4 separate regions of the Homo sapiens genome follow, and regions 1, 2 and 4 are each linked to region 3. The links are contacts of gene promoters, found by promoter capture Hi-C in blood cells and fetal thymus (Javierre and others, 2016). All regions are on one chromosome and are shown on one strand. Each heading gives the region's core, a stretch centred on a gene start or on the middle of the fragment in contact. The rest is flanking DNA. Distances are from core to core; before and after follow the strand shown.

The links. Contacts are between HindIII fragments. The CHiCAGO score rates a contact against its expected background, and 5 or more counts as called.
Region 1: a contact is called between the fragment with the promoter of EML2 here and the fragment with the promoter of PPP1R13L in region 3, in 8 of 17 cell types (naive B cells, total B cells, endothelial precursors and 5 more). The highest score is 10.7, in naive B cells.
Region 2: a contact is called between a fragment that was not itself captured here and the fragment with the promoter of PPP1R13L in region 3, in 2 of 17 cell types (monocytes and naive B cells). The highest score is 6.5, in monocytes.
Region 4: a contact is called between the fragment with the promoter of MARK4 here and the fragment with the promoter of PPP1R13L in region 3, in 1 of 17 cell types (M1 macrophages). The highest score is 5.1, in M1 macrophages.

The regions. Positions count from the first base shown.
Region 1 is chr19:45,637,976-45,641,219 of GRCh38, reverse strand. EML2 (EMAP like 2) reads left to right here and starts at 1,823. Exons shown (of 19, transcript NM_012155.4): 1 at 1,823-1,863; 2 at 2,347-2,375; 3 at 2,586-2,715. The coding sequence starts at 1,844. MIR330 (microRNA 330) reads left to right here and starts at 2,133; the gene lies at 2,133-2,226. RefSeq lists silencers at 1,529-1,618, 1,639-1,918, 2,615-2,909 and enhancers at 1,294-2,145, 2,615-2,909, 2,146-2,997. The HindIII fragment of the contact is 2,349 bases long and covers 63-2,411 here.
Region 2 is chr19:45,555,728-45,558,891 of GRCh38, reverse strand. The region is part of intron 1 of OPA3 (outer mitochondrial membrane lipid metabolism regulator OPA3); the gene reads left to right. Among named protein-coding and RNA genes, the nearest start is that of OPA3, 27 kb to the left of the region's middle. RefSeq lists an enhancer at 363-863. The HindIII fragment of the contact is 1,184 bases long and covers 965-2,148 here.
Region 3 is chr19:45,403,234-45,406,389 of GRCh38, reverse strand. PPP1R13L (protein phosphatase 1 regulatory subunit 13 like) reads left to right here and starts at 1,321. Exons shown (of 13, transcript NM_006663.4): 1 at 1,321-1,391. RefSeq lists enhancers at 470-669, 640-1,435. The HindIII fragment of the contact is 7,528 bases long and covers 1-3,156 here.
Region 4 is chr19:45,249,462-45,252,549 of GRCh38, reverse strand. It overlaps MARK4 (microtubule affinity regulating kinase 4), which reads right to left and starts at 1,279. Exons shown (of 17, transcript NM_001199867.2): 1 at 911-1,279. The coding sequence starts at 961. RefSeq lists an enhancer at 1-371 and silencers at 845-994, 1,225-1,604. The HindIII fragment of the contact is 10,557 bases long and covers 1-3,088 here.

The sequences.
Region 1 (3,244 bases), core at 574-3,073, 230 kb before region 3:
AATCTGGGGTACGGAGTAACAGAGGCTGAGACCAGGTGGAGGCATTCCAGATTCCAGAAGCTTTGACATCAAAATCGGGGGGCACTGCCAGGTTGAAAAGGGCGTGGCTTAAAGGTTGGGCGGGGCCGTAGGGGCGTGGTCAAATGCCAAGAGGTGCAGCCAACTTGGAGGCCTCGAAGGTATTCACATAAGGAATACGTGAAAATGGACGTAATCAGAATGCCTGGCGGGCCGGAGAAGGAGCGTTGGCGGGAGGTAGCAGTCAATTCTCAAGCAACTGAGTCAACTCAGGGACAGGGTTAGAAGGGAGGCTCAGAATGACAGGCGTGGTCAACTCCAGAGGCGGGGCCATACTGAAGATCTGGACAGAGTCAAAAACTAAGGCTATATAATTCTAGCAGTTTGGGAGGCGGAGGCGGGAATCATCGCTTGAGCTCAGGAGTTCGAGACCAGGCTGGGCAAAATAGCGAGCCCTCGTCTTTACTAAAAATGAAAATAAATTAGGCCTGGCGCGGTGGCTCACGCCTGTAATCCCAGCACTTCGGGAGGCCTAGGCGGGTGGATCACAAGGTCAAGAGATCGAGACCATCCTGGCCAACATGGTGAAACCCCCTGTCTATTAATAATACAAAAATGGGCGTGGTGGCGCGTGCCTGTAGTCCCAGCTACTCGGGAGGCTGAGGCAGGAGAATCACTTCAACCCGGGAGGCGGAGGTTGCAGTGAGCTGAGATCGCGCCACTGCACTCCAGCCTGCTGACAGAGCAAGACTCCGTTAAACAAACAAACAAAAAACAAAAAACAAAAAACAAAAAAAAAAAGAGAGAGAAAGAAAATAGCCGGGCGTGCTGGCCTTCGCTTGTAGACCCAGCTACTTGGGAGGCTGCGGCAGGAGGCTCACTTAAGCCTAGGAAATTCGAGGTTTCAGTGAGCCATGATCACGCCATTGCACTCCAGTTTGGTCGACAGAGCCACACCCTGTATCAAAAACAAAACAAAACAAAAATCACCCTAAGGCTGGAGTTATGGTGCAGTGGGCGTGGTCAGCGCTAGGAGGCCACGCAAGGGCAAGACCAAGGTCAAAAGCTGCACATTTCAACTCTGCTCAAACATAGCAAACACAAATACAGCGTTGTGTATACTCCAGGCACTTCCCAATAATTAACCAATTTCACCCTCGCAACTACCCCCGGGAGGTGTGAGTACTCTTATTTATTTATTTATTTTGAGACGGAGTCTTGTTCTCGTTGCCCAGGCTGGAGTGCAATGACACAATCTCAGCTCACTGTAACCTCTGCCTCCCGAGTTCGAATGATTTTCCTGCCTCAGCCTCCCAAGTAGCTGGGATTACAGGCGCCAGCCACCACGCCAGGCTAAGTTTTGTATTTTTAGTAGAGACGGGGTTTCACCACGTTGGCCAGGCTGGTCTTGAACTCCTGACCTCAGGTGATCTGCCCGCCTCGGCCTCCCAAAGTGCTGGGATTACAGGCATGAGCCACCGCGCCCGGCCGGGTACTCTTATTATCCCCATTTTTTAAATGAGGAAACCGAGGCAGAGGTTGGACGACCTGTGTACACTGCTAGGAATTAGCAGAACTGGGGTTTTAACTCAAGCAGGCGCGCTCCCGAGTCCATGTTCTCAACCACTCTCCCCCACCCACCCCGAAAGAACCTGGGATCGGGAGTCCACAGCCCGGGATGTGTGACCCGGTGGGACCCTCCGGCTCCAGGGGTGGCTGTGGAGGGCGGGGCAGGGGCGCGGCGGCCCGGGCGCCTCCCAGGGCCGGAAGCGGCAGAGCCGGTCCCGGCTCCACCCCCGGCCCCGAAGCTCCGCCACCCGCCGCCATGAGTAGCTTTGGAGCTGGGTGAGACCCTTTCGCAGACCACCCCCCATCTCCTCTCCGCGCTCCCGGGGCTTAGATCTCAGGTTTCACCCAACCCCTGGGACCCAGACCGGCGTGGGGACACGCCCCTTCCCTTAAACTCTCCCCGTTTCTCCCTCTGCTTGACGTTTGGTGTGCTGGGGGAACTGCGGGTGGGGGGCGCTGGGGAGCACCTTGCTGATTAGGAGGGAAGGGTCCTTGGTGACTCCCTTCTTCCAGGATCGCGTCCCTGCCACTTCGTGCTGTGTGATCTTTGGCGATCACTGCCTCTCTGGGCCTGTGTCTTAGGCTCTGCAAGATCAACCGAGCAAAGCACACGGCCTGCAGAGAGGCAGCGCTCTGCCCCTTACTCGGCCCCGTTTTCATCGGAGACCTCCGGGGAGCGGTGGGGGTGGAGGAATGGTTTCTCCCCTTTTCTGAACTGAATACTAAGACCCTTTTTTTTTCTTTGTCCTTTCCTGACAGCAAAACCAAAGAAGTTATCTTCAGTGTGGGTGAGTGGGGAGATGGGGAAGGGCTCGGTGGAAGCTTGCTTGTTGGGGTGACAGGCTGGAGCCAGAGGTCAGGAGTCTTGGCTACTGGGTCTTTGCCTCTCTGGCCTCAGTTTCCCTGCCTTTAAAAAAATAAATAAATAAAGCTGGAAGAGGAGAGGGAATAGGGATGGGGCTGGTGTCAGTGCCTGACCTCTGGGGGTGTCCTGGCAGAGGATGGCTCCGTGAAAATGTTCCTGAGGGGCCGCCCTGTGCCCATGATGATCCCAGACGAGCTGGCACCCACCTACAGCCTGGACACACGCTCGGAGCTGCCTTCTTGCCGGCTCAAGCTGGAGTGGGTGTATCCTTTTGCTGGAATCTCCTTGGTGCTCCCATCCCCCCAGGAGGAAATAGAAAGGCGGTCAAGGCAGCTCAGGCCTGTAATCTCAGCACTTTGGGAGGATCGTTTGAGGCCAAGAGTTTGAGACCTGCCTGGGCAACACACAAAACAAGCACAGCACGTTCAAGGGCTATGTGGCCAGAGTGGGATTGGTGCATTTGAGCAAAAAGAGTTGGGAATGGCTGGAAGCCCGGGCTCTGGAGTCTGACAGAGATGGGTTCAAACCCCAGTCCAGCCCGTACCTGGCCGTGTGACCCTGGAAAAGTCGTCTTGACTCTGAAAAATGAATTTTATGATCTCAGGTCCATAGACCTGTGAAATAATGTGTAAAGGTACTGAGCTCATAGTATGTGCCCCATGCACAGGGACTGATAAAACACTAACTCAGCACATTGGGAGGCCGAGGTGGGTGGATCACTTGAACCCAGGAGTTTGAAACCAGCCTGAGCAACATAGCAAGACCTCGTCTTTACAGGAAATAAAATAGCAG
Region 2 (3,164 bases), core at 307-2,806, 150 kb before region 3:
AGCACCAAAGTCTCATGAAGCAGCACTCAGAGGGTCTCCTCTCTGCCTTAGTCACACCACACTGGAGAGTGTTTCCATGGCCACTGCATTGCAGAGCGGAGATCATGCCACTGCACTCCAGCCTTGGGGACAAAGCGAGACTCCGTCTAAAAAAAATAAAAAAAAAAAACAGCAGAACATAGAATAATAAAAACTGCATACAAATCCCCTGTAGAAATGGGGGAGCGGAGAAAGGGCAGGCCGCATGGGGGCAGAGTGCTCACCTTTCATAGTGGGGCTGGATTATGAGTAGGTAACGATGGCGTAGATCTGAACAAACCTCCAGTTGAAGAGCTCAGAAATGAGTGAGGTATGCTTACTATGGGCTGTCCAGGAGATGGCGCTAGGGGAAAACAGGCTGGCGACCGCAGTAGTTGAGGGTTCCTCTGAGGAGGGGACTTTGGCTTTACATTTTATAGTTTGAGTACTTTGTTTTCTTGCCATGTGTTACTTTTATTTGCGGCAGGAGTTGGGGGTGGGGCGACGGGGAATGGTAGGTTTGTTCTTTTCTTTTCTTTTTTTGAGACAGTCTTGCTCTTGTTGCCCAGGCTGGAGTGCAGTGGCGTGGTCTTGGCTCACGGCAACCTCCACCTCCTGGGTTCAAGCGATTCTCCTGTCTCAGCCTCCCGAGTAGGTGGGATTACAGGGGCCTCCCACCACGCCCCGCTAATTTTTTGTATTTTTACTGGAGATGGGTTTCACCATGTTGGCCAGGCTGGTCTTGAACTCCTTACCTCATGATCTGCCTGTCTCAGCCTCCCAAAGCGCTGGGATTAAAGGCCTGAGCTACCGCGCCCAGCCAGTTTGTTCTTTTCTTCTCACCAATTCCTTCTGATTGCTGCGTGGGGGACAATTGCAGAGGGGTGAGGCTGGGGCCGGCAGGTGGGAAGGAGGCTGGAGGCGGGACTCACTTATGTGTTAAGCTTAGATCTAATGAGCATCATGCGTGTGCCTGGCCTGGCACTGGGCAGTGCTGGGGACACAGCAGTGACTGTGACAGCCCTGGGCCCCACCCTTGTGAGGCTTACAGGACAGTGGGGAGACTGATTGCAGACAGGTAACTGGATAGCCACTATTCCTGGTTGTGATAGGCACTCAGAAGGGGATAGACAGGCTGTATTCCTCCTATTCAGGAGGTCAGGGAGGAGAACGTTGGTCAGAGCTGGGATGGATCCTGGACCAGGACAGCAGAAGGGAATCCACTGGGAGAGATGTTCAAGATGCAGAATGGACCCGACACGCAGCTGAGAGGCTGTGGGAGAAGGGGAACAGCTGGGCTGAGGCCCCCGTCTCTAGCCAGGGGACAGGTGTGGGGCCAGGTGCTGGGTTCAGGTTTGGATGTGCTGAGTGTGAGAGGTCTAGGAGACATCTGGAGCGTGTTGACCCCCGCAAGTCTGGTGAGTCCTCCAGCTTAGCCTGTCCCGGCCCCTCACAGCTGTCCCTTCTAGAATCACAGCCCTGTGATTCATCCCCACCTGGGCCTTGTTTCCTGAACCCCACATCTGACCGCTGGCCCGAGGGAGAATGCCGTCGGCCCCTGCTCTGAAAGCCCTGAAAGCCCATGCCTGCGTGCACACACGCGTGCACACACACACACACCCTCTTGATTTGATTTCCTGTGGCCTGGGTATGTGCCCACTCCCATTGGCACACCTAGACCCACCTGCTGGCCCAGATCCCCATGCTTGGTCTGCACTGAGACACTTGCATTTCCACGCTGGGAACCTCACCCAGGAAGGCTAGAGGATCTGGAACCCTCACCCCTCACCACTCTCTGGCCACTGTGCTAGGTGTCCCTGACATGAAGGAGGCAGTGACAGTTACGGGCCCAGCTCTGGGCCACCACCAGGTCTGGCGAGTGTCATTGTCAGGATGATGCTGTCCTTCCTGTGTTACAGAGGGGCCTTGGGGCAGGCTGTCATTGCTCAGGCAGCAGGTGGCGGAGCCCCGGGGGGACCCCAGATCAGCCTGACCCTAAGACCTCAGTGTGGGAGGGGTCTCCACAGCCTGGACCCCAGGAACCCACAAGCCCAGGGCCTAAGTCACAGCTGTAACAGTAACTGCAGCAGCTGACAGTGACAGTGACAGTGACTTCTCGGGCCCTAAGCTTGCACCTCAGGTCTTCCCTCCAGCTCCAGCAGAGCTCCCCAAGCCTTCCTGCCACCCCACCCCTTTGAAGATGAAAAATGTGTAGTGGCTGGGCTCAGTGGCTGTCTCCTGTCGTCCCAGTACTTTGGGAGGCTGAGGCAGGATGATTGCTTGAGCCCAGGAGTTCAAGACCTGCTTTGGCAACATAGCAAGACCCAGTCTCTACCAAAAAACAATTTAAAAACAGCCAGGCATGGTGGGGCATCTATAGTTCTAGCGGCTCCAGAGGCTGAGGCAGGAGAATTGCTTGAGTCTAGGTGTTCGAGGTTGCAGTGAACTGTGATGGAGCCGCTGCCTTCCATCCTGGACCACAGAGTGAGAGCCCATCTGTTAAATAAATAAATAAATAAGATGGAATATGGCAAGACCCCATCTCTACCCAAAAAAAATAAAATTAGCCAGGCATGGTGGCATGCACCTGTTGTCCTAGCTACTCAGGAGGCTGAGGTGGGAAGATGACTCGAGCCTGGGAGGCAGAGGTTGCAGTGAGCTGAGATTGTTCCACAGCACTCCAGCCTGGGCAACAGAACGAGATCCTGTCTCAGAAAAAGAAAAAATAAATTGTGTGCCCTCTAGTGCATTTTCAAGTTGACAAGTAAAACTTTTCTTCATTAACCTTAAGTAGTTGTGAAGGATGGAATTTCTGGTTCTGGTGTGTTATGATACTGACATGTTCAAACAGCTGGTGCATCCTTCCCTTCATATTTATTGCAGTTCGCATACAATAATGATTTGATGCCTACCAATGTCTGGTTTAAAGATATATATATATAGGCCAGGCATAGTGGCTCACGATTGCAATCCCAGCACTTTGGGAGGCCGAGGCAGCCAGATCACTTGAGCCCAGGAGTTCAAGACCAGCCTAGGCAACATACTGATAAACCCCATCTCTATTTTAAAAAAAATACAAAAATGACTAGGCACGGTGGCTCACGCCTGTAATCCCAACACTTTGGGAGGCCGAGGTGGGTGGATCA
Region 3 (3,156 bases), core at 72-2,571:
GTTTGTTGCAACGCCTCCTTAAAGGGGCAGCCACACTGCTCTTCCTAAGCCTTAAAGAGACAGGACGGTCGATTGGTCTGAAATTCTTGAAGAGACAGGTAAGAATACTAGTTAGTAGGGCTGTGCTTTCTGTGTTAAATGTCTTCTGGGGAGGCCCAGATGCCTCACAAGTTCAGAACTTGACTGGGAGAAGCGGGAAAATGGAGAAATAGGGGCAATCCGTCCGGAGGGCGTGAAGTTCCAGCCAGGGGCGGGGCTTCTGGACTCCGGGGGAGCGGGAAACATAGGGGGAGGAGCTTGTGGTTCTCGAGGGCGGAGCCTCGGACCCAGGAGCCCCACACGCGTGGAGTGGTGCTGGGCACGGTGTAGCGTTTGTGGATCAAATGGGACTTGTAGATGCCCTCGGGGGTTTAGTCTCATGCGTGGGAAACCTCGATGACTTTCAGGAAGGGACCTGATCGGCGACTCCTCCCTGCCCCAGGGAGCGTGTAAACAGCGGCACGTGGACACAGATTTGGGGGACGCACCCACTTCCCTTCCCACTGGGGCCGCCCCGCGTTGGGCGGCGGTTGGAGCCGCGAGACGGTGGCTAGACAGGGTGACCCGACTGCATTCCTGGCCAGTGTGTCAGCGCCACTTCCCGCCCCCTCTGCCAAGATTTAGGATCCTACTCCAGAATTGGGGCACCCCTTCTCCCCAGGTGGGAGAGGCTTTCCAGAGCGGAGGGAGGGTCAAGGGGAAGGGGAAATGTTTCCCCTATCCAGGATCTCCAGACGGTTTCCTTCGCGTGGGCGAGAGAGACACCGGGGTGCAGCCCCTGCGGGCTCCAGGACTACAATTCCCACAGGACCCGAGGCAAAGAGTCGCCCGAGGGCGGTCGCGGAGGCTGCTGGGGGTTGTAGTCCAAACTAAGATTTTGAACTCTTGCTGGGACATCCTTTGAAGATCCAACCCGCGCTTTTTATCGACGGGGAGATTCGGGCTCAGAGACCCTGGGGGATACTGATCAGGAAAGGGGATAGTGCGCCTGAAGGGGTGGGGCAAGGGCTCAGGAGTCAGTCTCCAGCCACAGCGAGGCAGGCGTCTCGGCTCTTCTGTATCTCCCTGGCCTGGTCGCTCTCGGCTTCTGGGCCTCGCCCTTCCTGTCTGTGAAATGGACTCTGGGTGAATCCAAATGGGATCGTCTTGGGCTACGTCCTGTCCCTCCGGGACTACAAGTCCCAAGGTGCTCGAGGCGACCTTGGCTCCCCCTCCCCACCGGGACCCGCCTCCCTCCAGCCCAAGTCACGTCGTCTAACCTGTTCCCAGCTCCTGCCCCGCCCCGTTCTCCGCTCCCCAAGCCGGAGCCCGAGCTGGAGGAAGCCCCCAGGTGCCAGGATCTGCCCGGATCCGTGAGTTTCACCCTCCTGGGGACCAGAGGCCCTGAAAAAGCCCAACACCCGCGTCCCTGGGAGGATTGGGAGGGGACTCGGACGCCAGGTCCCAGGGCGGAATTTGGGGCGCGCCGACACCTGGATCCTTAGAAGGAAACTCCGTTGCCTGTTTTACTGGAGGGAAGGAAAGCGGGTTCGGATGCCTGAATTCTTGGAATGGAGGGATTCTACCCCTTCATCCCGGGGAGACGTTGGAGCTGGAATTCCTGAGTCCCTCGAACTGGGGGGCTCTAGGAAGCCGAGTCTTTGGGTAGTATAGGGGTTCGAATCCCCGAGTCTTGGTCAGAAATGAGAGGCTCAGACTGGTGGGGCTCAAGGTGGAATGGGTGACCACCCTGCCAGCCTCAAGCTGCTGTCTCGACCGATCTTCTAGGTCTCTGAGCAGAATTAAGGGTGGGGCAGGGATAGTGGAGCCTGGGTTCCTGAAGTGGAGCAGGACAGGTACCCGGGGTCCCTCCGGAGGCTGTGTCCCGGCTCTCCCCCGACTTTTCGGCTCGGGGATGGGGGCGGGGTAGGAGAGAAAACACCGAGGCAGATCTCCAACCTCCTCTGTGCCGCTGAGCGAACCCAACATGTCATTAACCTGGGCGTCAGACCTGCCTAACCAGAGAAGGGACATCCGCCCTAGGGCACCCCCTGGCGGAGGTGGGCTCCCCTATTGCCTTATGGGGTGGGAAACAGCTGGGTTTGCAGAGGTAGTTCTAGAACCCAGGGCAGAATTCCGGAAAGCGGCTATTGGATTCTGGGAGGTTTGCATAGCCGGGCATTTAACCATTACACGGAGAGGAAGGGGTAAACTGAGGCTTGGAGCTCACACAGGCAGTAGAGTTTGTAGGGTCAGGATTCTGCCTCCTCCTTCTTCTGCAGCTCTCTGGGGGACGGGATTCCATCCGCCCCCGCCAGATTTTCTGACTAACCTTCTGCCTCAGGGCTCCTTGCCCTGACCCTGAGGTGAGAAATGTCACCTCCACGCCCATCTGTCTGACCTGGGGTATTGTGGGAGATAAGGGAGGGACAGAGGCTAATTCTGGAGGTGTCTGTCTGTCCTTGAGGCGGGGGGAGGGCAGGACCAGGCACCTCCCTCTGTCTATCTCCCCGTTCTCTCCACCCCCATGCGTCCTAAGAAGGGGGATTAAAAACAGAATGGGGGAGGCGAGCATCTGATGAGAGAGGAGTGTTTCCCAATGTCTGGGCTTGAAGGGCATTTGATGATAACCTGAAATGAAATTAAAAATAATAACCGTGGTTGCCAAAACAGGGCTCTGGGTGTACCAAGCTCAGAGCTGGTAGGTAGGTAGGTAGGAAAGCTCGCATTGTCTAGAGGAATCTTGGGTGACTGAGAGGTCTCCCTTTGAATAAGGTTTGCTGACCCCAGGGAAGGACTCCTCATTACGAGTGGAGAAACGGAGGCTGGAGAGTGGATATTGCCCACACCCTGGGCTTTTGCCAGCTTCTGTCTGGAATCTTCCAGGGCTCTCCCAGCCCTCCCGTCCCTAAGTGACTGAGGGTGATCACTGGCCAGACTCAGGAATGTACAGGGGAAATTTAGGACTCTGAGAGGCAAGGGCTCAGGAAGTTGAGACCCTGGGTGTCAAAACTCAGGGCTTGTATGATCTCAGAAAGAGTTGAAAGGGCCCTTTTAGGGGAAAAAAAAATTACATTGAGTCTGGACCCCTCACTCTGTTGCCAGACCCTGTGTTATTATAATGAACAGCCAAGGACA
Region 4 (3,088 bases), core at 30-2,529, 150 kb after region 3:
CGGTGGTTTGTGGGGAAGGGGTCTGAGTTTGGCCTAGCAGGGGGTCCAGAGGTTGGGGGTTGGGGAAGGGGCTGCCTGAAGCTGAGAAGTTGATAGAGGGCGGATGAGGCCTGGAGTCAGACTGGTCCAGGGCCTAGAAATACCAGCCTGGGTGAGGTGAGGGCCTAGAAGTTGGAGGCCAAGGCTTCCTGGGAGAGGAAGAGACCAGAAAGGGTCCAGGTGGCATCTGGGGGCCCCGGGGTGCTGGGATCTAGGGACAGGGCTGCTTGGAAGATGGGGACCAGGCCTGGGACGGGAGAGACCTTGAAGAAGCCAGAAAAGGGCCGGGGCCCAGGAGAGGTGGAAACCAGCTTCCTGCCAGGGGCTGCCCACAGGCGCCCTGGGTGCGTCCTGGAGGGGCAGAGGGCTGGGAATAAGAGGAGGGGGGCTCCTGGGGAGCCGGCACCCAGCCCCAGACAGGGAAGGCCGGAGCCAGAGGCAGGACTGGGCCAGGCCCTGCTGAGAGTGCCAGGGCCGGGCCTTGGGGGGTCAGGGGCCCTGCAAATCCGGGAGGGGGCGAGGTGTCGGACGCGGACGGCCTGGAGGGGAAACGGCTTAGCACAGGCAAGAGAAGGGAGGGGCTCCTGGAAGCAGGGGAAGGGGCTTCCTGGAGGGAACAGACCCGAGCGGAAGCGGTCTGCACGGGGACAAGAGAGGGGTCCCGAGAGAGGGGCGCCCCCAGGGGTCGGGCTGGGCTGGAAAAGGTGGGGAGGGTGGAGAGGCCTGGAAGTCCGGGAGGGGTCGAGAGGTGACGAGCCGGGTCGGGCCCAGGAAACGAGGGTAGGGGCTCGCGGGGCGAGGGGTACAACGGGGAGAAGGGTTTGGCGGCTGGACCCAGCCAGGGCTCCCCAAGGGGCCGGGCCCCACTCACCGTGTCCGAGTTCCGATCGTTGCCCGGGGCCAGCACCGTCCGCGAAGACATCTTCTCCGGGTCCCGGGGGGCAGGGGCGGCCGGGTGGGGGGGGCGGGGGTCCCAGGGTCCCCTCTCTTCCCCTCCCCCCCCGCCGGCCTGGGGACGCGAGCTCAAAAGCTGGGCGCCGAGAACGCCCGGGTCCGCGCGGCGGGAGAGGGGGCAGGGCGGGGGAGGGGAAGGGACGCCGAGGGTCCTAGTGGCCCCGTGCAGCGGGGACCCCGGGCGCCATGGGGGCGGCGGGCAGGCGGGCGGGCGGGGGCCGCGGAGGGGGCGCGGAGCCGGCCCAAGCGGCGGCGGAGGGAGGCGGTGGAGGGGCTGGGGAGGGAGGAAGGGACGTCAGGGGGAGGGGCGGGCAGGGCGGGGCGCCGGGACCCCGCCCCCCGCCGCCGGCCCTTAAAGGCGCAGGCCCGGGCTGGTCGGGGCGCCGGGGGCTCCGGGGGCTCCGGGGGCGGAGGCGGGTCTGGGCACGCCGGCGGGGAGCGTGTTCTCGCCCGAGACGAGAGGCGCACTGGAGAGGAGAGAAGGGGAGAGAGAGGCCGGGGCAGAGCGCCAGAGACGCAGAGAGAGAGATCGAGAGACGTAGAGATAGAGAGACACGAAGAGAGAGAGACGAGTTACAAAAGGGTGGAGAGGCGCAAGGAGATGAAGGAAGAGCCAGATGACAGAGAGAGAGAGACGCAGGGAGACAGAGACAGAGAGACCCAGAGACGCAGAGGGACAAAGACTGAGAGAGACCCCACACACACACAGGGAGAGACAAAGAGATACAGAGACGCAGAGATCTGTGAAGAGATAGAGATAAAGGGACTGAGCCAGAGAAGACCCCAGAGGCGCTGCCCACATTGTCCCTCCCCCTGGCCCATTCTCTCCCCAGTTGGCGGGGGGGAGCGGGGGAAGCTCTCCCCTCGGAGGCCTAAGGGTGGGGTGGGTGAAGGGGATGGTGTGCGGGGCTTGGCCACTGCTGAGGGCTCAGTGACCTCCCTAGTCAGGCTGCCTCCACTCAGCCACATAGATCCAGACCCGCAGGTTGGGGCTGCAGCATCCACTCCTTTGCACCCCAGCTGGGGTGTGGGGACCCTCTCTGTCCACCTGTATGACCCGGGGCAAGCACTTGCCCTTTCTGGGCTTCACTTTCCCAGTTTGTAAAGTGAAAGGAAGAATCCGTGTGTTGCTCACTGGCAGGTGCGAAGGAACCCTGTGCAGGTATTCGCCTGCAGGGCACAGCCACTCCCCATGCGGGCAGGCTGAGACCAGAGAGGACAAGAGCCTCTCGGAGGCCACACAGCGCTGTGGGGACCATCCATGCTCTGTGGACCAGGGTGGGATGAAAGAAAGACAGGCATTACATAGTCTTGGCCTGGGAGTCACATGGTTTTGGGAAGGGGTCTGTGCCCTGCCTTCTTCTATCTGAGGCTTATTTTCCTGAGCCTCAGTTTCCCCTTCTAAAACAGCAGTGTGCTGGATCTGGCTGGAGCGAGCTGATTGTTATGTCTCAGGAATTTTGGAACTGGTTGTTAAACACAGCCATTATTAAAAATTAAATTATGCAAACATACAATTAAATTACATTAAAGGTACAAGTAATACATACTCATCACGTCCTAGTTATCTTACTACATTTGCCATTATCTGTGATCTTGAGGTTACCTACGTCTATTGTAGCTGCACAGTAAAATTACTATATAATGGGGGGCAAAAATGCCATGTGATATCACCTTGGTAGCTTGAAATTAGCCATGGTGGGAATATTTACACCATGGAAATTGGCAAATGCTACAAATTAAGGCTCCACACCCCCACCTGCAGAGAGCTGGGGGTGTTTTGTTTTGCTTTGCTTTGTTTTGTTTTTGAGACAGGGTCTCACTGCATTACCCAGGCTAGAGTGCAGTGGCACGATTATGGCTCACCGCAGCCTGGACATCCCCGGCTCAAGCAATCCTCCCAGCTCAGCCCCACCAAGTCACTGGGACTACAGGTGTGCACCACCACGCCCAGCTAATTTTTTGTAGCCATATTGCCCAGGCTGATCTCCAACTCTCAGGCTCAGGCGATCCTCCCACTTCGGCCTCCTAAAGTGCTGGGACTACCCTGCACTCAGCCAAAAGCTGGTTGTGAAAGCACAGCACTGCTTGATAC